Regions from separate parts of the Homo sapiens genome. Here region 1 is linked to region 2. Evidence: promoter capture Hi-C in 16 types of primary human blood cells and fetal thymus (Javierre and others, 2016). All regions are on one chromosome and are shown on one strand. The core of a region is centred on a gene start or on the middle of the fragment in contact, and the rest is flanking DNA. Distances in the headings are between cores, read along the strand shown.

Evidence for each region. Contacts are between HindIII fragments. The CHiCAGO score rates a contact against its expected background, and 5 or more counts as called.
Region 1: the fragment with the promoter of ZBTB46 here is called in contact with a fragment that was not itself captured in region 2 in 2 of 17 cell types (M2 macrophages and M0 macrophages); the score reaches 5.1 in M2 macrophages.

What each region holds. Positions count from the first base shown.
Region 1 is chr20:63,829,896-63,832,595 of GRCh38, forward strand. It overlaps ZBTB46 (zinc finger and BTB domain containing 46), which reads right to left and starts at 1,369. Exons shown (of 5, transcript NM_001369741.1): 1 at 1,202-1,369. RefSeq lists a silencer at 1,387-1,526. The HindIII fragment of the contact is 15,017 bases long and covers 1-2,700 here.
Region 2 is chr20:63,779,646-63,782,345 of GRCh38, forward strand. The region is part of intron 2 of ZBTB46 (zinc finger and BTB domain containing 46); the gene reads right to left. Among named protein-coding and RNA genes, the nearest start is that of ZBTB46-AS1, 27 kb to the right of the region's middle. RefSeq lists an enhancer at 2,695-2,700. The HindIII fragment of the contact is 5,454 bases long and covers 1-2,700 here.

The sequences.
Region 1 (2,700 bases), core at 119-2,618, 50 kb after region 2:
CGATACAATTAAAATGCCCGTGAGTTCTCGGCGCACAGGTGTCTGCGCCCAGGCCGCGCGCTAAACACGTTTCTAATTAGCATTTCTTTAAACAATGCTGATCACAATCTTGCCACCGTAATCCACTCCAAATGCATCGTTGAGATTGCAGCACGGAAAGCGAGAGAGGAAATTCGCTGCGAATCTCAAACTTTCTTTTGTTTATATTTCTTCGCTGTCAGAAAATATCCGTTCTTCGCCCCATCTGGTCTGTACCCTGGCTCCTCGGTCCAGCCCTATTGTGTGTGCTTCGTTAAACCTACAAACAGTGAATCTGTCAGCGGGGCCAGGGGAACCCCAACTAGCAGGAGCCCTCCCTCTGGCGCAGAGAATTCCCCGTTTGCCTTAGGGATTGAGTTGTCAGACACCGGCTCGCGCTCCCCCGCGAAACTGACATGTCTATTTACAGAGAAACAAAGACGCGGCTCGCAGCGGACCCCGCTTCCTCCGCGCGCCCCGTCCGCCCCGCGCGCCCCGAGCCCTCCGCGCCCCGAGCCGCCCCGCCCCGAGGCCCCTGCGCCCCGGTTCGGCCGGCGATTAAGATGGAGACCAGGCCGGCGCCCGGCGTCCGGGGAGACAATGACCCCCCGGCCTCAGGGCGCCGGGACCCGCCCGCGCCCACCTCCCGCAGTTCCGACTCTTGGCAAACTCGGCGCGGGCGGCTCCGGGTGCGGCTGGGCTGTGCCGGCGGGGGGCGCGGGCGGGGGGCGCCAAGACGCCCCCGGGCTGCCTCGGGGCCAGGCGTTGACGCAGCAGAAATTACCAGCTGGAAAATTCCCCTCTCGGAGGTGCCGGGGAGGGAGCGCGGCGGCGGCGGGAGGTGCCGGGGGCCGAGGGGCCGGGGCAGCCCAGCCGCCTCCGCGCTCAGCCCCGCGGGGAACCCGCGCCGCCCCCGCGCGCCCCGCCCCGCGCCGCCGGCCTGGGGGGCACCCGCGGGGGCCGGGCCGGGGTCTCCGCCGCCGCCCCCGGAGCCCGCGCCGCAGCTGGGAGCGCCGATGGCCCCCGGGAGGGCGCCCCCGCGGGGCGGGGCGTGGCGGGGCGGCCGGCGGCGGGGGCGCGCCCGGGCTCGCAGCGGCCCCGGCTCCCGGCTCCCGGCTCCGGGCCCGGCCCCCGCCGCGATGCGCCCGCCCGGCCGCGCGGACAATGAGCCGGCGCCGCTTACCTGTGACCCCATGGGGCGCGGGCGAGGGCGGGCGCCGCGGCCGCCGGGCCGGCGCCGGTGATCGCCGCCGCCGCCGGGAGGGCGCTGCGTCCGGGCGGGTCCGAGCTGCGCGCTCGCCGGGGCTGCTCGGTCCGTCCGTCCGTCCGTCGGTCCGTCAGGCCGGCGCGCGCCCCCGCGCCCGCTCCAACCCCGCGGCCCCCGCCGCCCGCGCGCGCGCGCCCCGCCCGCGGACCCTGACCCCGCCCCCCGGCGCGCGCCCGGCCGCCGCTGATTGGCCCGCGCCGCGCCCCGGCCGCGGCCACCGCCCCGGGCCCCGCCCACGCCGGCCCGGCCGCCGGCCCCGCCCCTCGCTCGGCTCCCGGCGCCGCGCCGCGGGGTCGCAGGGGGCCGCGCCGGGGGTCCGTTCTCCCCCCCGCGGGCAGCCGGACAGCGGAAGTGCGGGCTGGAGCTCGCTGGGCATTGTGGGAAGCCCCCTCCCCTGGGCTGGCGGGGGGCTGGGGCGGCGCGGCGCGGGGGTCCCCCTGGCCCCCGCTGCGCCCTTGCCCCGCGAGCGCGGAGCAGCCTGGAAACACCCCACGGGAGCGGCGACCCCGGCGAGGGCACCCGCTCCCTTCCCGGGCCGCGCACCGGGCGCTGCCCACGCGCAGGTTCCTCGGGGGCGCGCGGGTGCCCAGGTCACCGGCCGTCCCCGCGCCTGACGCGCGGTTGCACTGCGCGCGTCTCGCAAACTTGGCGACTCCCCCAGCCCGGCCGGGCATCAACGCGGGCCGCTCGCGGTGCGGAAAAGGCGCCCCCAAGGAAGGCCGCCCGGGGTGCGGGGTCTGGAAGGGCCTGGGCACCGCGCGCGCCTACCCTCGGGGGCCTCGGCGCACCCGGAGATCGGCGCACCTCGGGCGCAGGCCTCGTGGGGGTGCCCGCCAGTGGGGCTCGCTTTTGGCTGACTAGGGGCACCGGCGGCCGCGCGTGGGTCCCTCCCGTCGTGTTGTCTGCGGGGGACGAATGGCTCCGGGAGGGGGCGGGAACCAGCGGCCCGGGCCTCGCCCCAGCCCGTGTGCAGCCCCGATCCGAACGGCCTGGGACGCGTCTCCACCACTCGGCGCCCGGACTCTGCGCGTCGCTTCTCGCCTCCGCCGTCCTCAGCCCTCGGGCGGGTAGAGTGGGAAGCGCGGCCCCGCATTCCTGGCCGGCCTGCGCAGGGGTAAAGGCCACCTCGCTTCCTCTCCCCGGGCGCGGCGGGAAGGGAGGTGAGCCTGTGGCCGGCAGCCGCGCGAGGGAGTCGAGCCCGGCCCGGCCAACCAATGGGGAGGCGCCCGGGCCGTCCAGCCTGCCTCCCTGCGGGCCCAGCGCAGCGGATTCCTCGGGAGGTGGGAGGCGGCGGCCCTATGGGTGCTTTCAAATCTGGATGTGTGAGGCGCATTCAGGAGCGGCAGTGGGAGGCGGCTGAGGGCTCTCCATGAGTGAGCAAAGGCGAAGCGAGGTGTGGCTGCCGGGACCAACGC
Region 2 (2,700 bases), core at 32-2,531:
TCTTGACCTCGTGATTCGCCCCCCTCAGCCTCCGAGAGTGCTGGGATTACAGGCCTGTGAGCCACCGCGCCCGGCCGCTAATTTTTGTATTTTTAGTAGAGACGGGGTTTCACCACATTGGTCAGGCTGGTCTCAAACTCCCAACCTCAGGTGATCTGCCCACCTCAGACTCCCAAAGTGCTGGGATTACAAGCATGAGCCACCATGCCTGGCCAAAATCACCCAATTTTAAAGCCAAATTTTAAATCTAAATTATTGTAACAAATCAAGGTGAAAAACACATAAAAGAAATCAGGATAAGCTGAAAGAACTCTCCCTTGTGTGAAATGCTAAAATTTGGGTTTCCGCCAGGCACAGTGTCTCATGCCTGTAATCCCAGCATTTTGGGAGGCCGAGATGGGTGGATCATGAAGTCAGGAGTTTGAGACTAGCCTGGCCAGCCCGGTGAAACCCCGTCTCTACTAAAATACAAAACATTAGCTAGGCATGGCGGTGCGTGCTTGTAATCTCAGCTACTCGGCAAGCTGAGGCAGGAAAATCGCTTGAACCAGGGAGACAGAGGTTGCGGTGAGCCGAGATCACACCATTGCACTCCAGCCTGGGCAACAAGAGTGAAACTCCATCTCAAAAAAAAAAAAGACAGATAAAAGAAATTCTCATTAATTTTATGTATATAGTAGTTAGCAAGGTAACTCAATGGATAAAAGACAGGTTTCTTAGCAAGCAGCACTGGAACAACCTTATAATCCTATGTAAAAAGTGAACCTCAAGCTGATCTCACGCCACATACAAAAAAACCAACTTGAATCATGGAGCTATGCGTTATACTTAAATTGATAAAAACTCAAGAAAAACCATAGGAGAAAGTCTTTGTTGGCTGGGCACGGTGGCTCATGCCTGTAATCCCAGCACTCTCGGAGGCTGAGGCGGGCGGATCACGAGGTCAGGAGTTCAAGACCATCCTGGCTAACATGGTGAAACCCCGTCTCTACTAAAAATACAAAAAATGAGCCGGGCGTGGTGGCGGGCGCCTGTAGTCCCAGCTACTCGGGAGGCTGAGGCAGGAGAATGGTGTGAACCCAGGAGGCAGAGCTTGCAGTGAGCCGAGATTGCACCACTGCACTCCAGCCTGGGCGACAGAATGATACTCCGTCTCAAAAAAAAAGGATCCTCCTGAAGAGACACTGTTAAATGAAAAAAGGAGGCCATGCACAGTGGCTCACGCCTGTAATCCCAACATTTTGGGAGGCCAAGGCGGGTGGATCATGAGGTCAGGAGTTCAAGACCAGCCTGACCAACATGGTGAAACCCCATCTCTACTAAAAAAAAAAAAAAAAATACAAAAATTAGCTGGGCGCGGTGGCGGGTGCCTGTAATCCCAGCTATTCAGGAGGCTGAGGCAAGAGAATGGCGTGAACCCAGGAGGCAGAGTTTGCAGTGAGCCAAGATGGTGCCACTGCACTCCAGCCTGGGTGGCAGAGCAAGACTCTGCCTCAAAAAAAAAAAAAAAAAAAAAAAGAAAGAAAAAAGGAGCCAAAGGCCAAGAGAAAATATTTTCAAAGCACATACTTGATGAAGGACTTGGAACGAGAACACCTAGGAACTCTCACCACTCAGTAATAAAAGATGGGCAGAAGATCTGAACAGACACTTCCCCAAGGAAGAGACCCAGATGTGGAGCAGGTGCCCGATGCTCATCACCGCCAGCTGAGCCACGACACTCACTCGGCCAGAGCCTCACGGTCACCACGTAGACAGCCCAATCGAAACACGGCAAAAAGACCTGGACAGACACTTTACCAAAAAAGATATATGAATGGCATCATCCGCCATCAAAGAAATGCAAATCAAAGACCATAGAGAAGCCAGGTGTGGCGTCTCACGTCTGTCATGCCAGCACTGTAGGAGGCCGAGGCAGGCGGATCACCTGAGGTCAGGAGTTCGAGACCAGCCTGGCCAACACGGCCAAACCCCGTCTCTACTAAAAATACAAAAAATCAGCCAGGGGTGGTGCTGGGTGATTGTAATCCCAGGTACTCGGGAGGCTGAGGCAGGAGAATTGCTTGAACCTAGGAGGCAGAGGTTGTAGTGAGCCAAGATCGTGCCATTGCACTCCAGCCTGGACAACAGAGCGAGACTCTGTCAAAAAAAAAATAGAGGCCGGGCGCGGTGGCTCACGCCTGTAATCCCAGCACTTTAGGAGGCTGAGGTGGGCAGATCACAAGGTCAGGAGATCGAGACCATCCTGACTAACACGGTGAAACCTCGTCTCTACTAAAAATACAAAAAAAATTAGCCAGGCGTGGTGGTGGGTGCCTGTAGTCTCAGCTACTCAGGAGGCTGAGGCAGGAGAATGGCATGAACCGGGGAGGCGGAGCTTGCAGTGAGCCGAGATGGCGCCACTGCACTCAGGCCTGGGTGAAAGAGCAAGACTCCGTCTCAAAAAAAAAAAAAAGAAAAGAGGCGTGGCGATTTTCACCAAAATCCCCGGCTACTGTATGCAAACCCCCAGTGGTGAGCCAATGACTCCTGCAGAGACGCCCAGGCTGCAACCCCCGAGCCGTGGTTTTGCCACCTTGTGGCAGAACGACTCCGCAGACCTGATTCGGTTCAGGATCTCACGATGAGTCCTGGATGAGCCACGTGGGCCCTAAACGGACCCACCAGGGCCCCGTCAGCAGAGAAGGAGGCAGGAGGGTG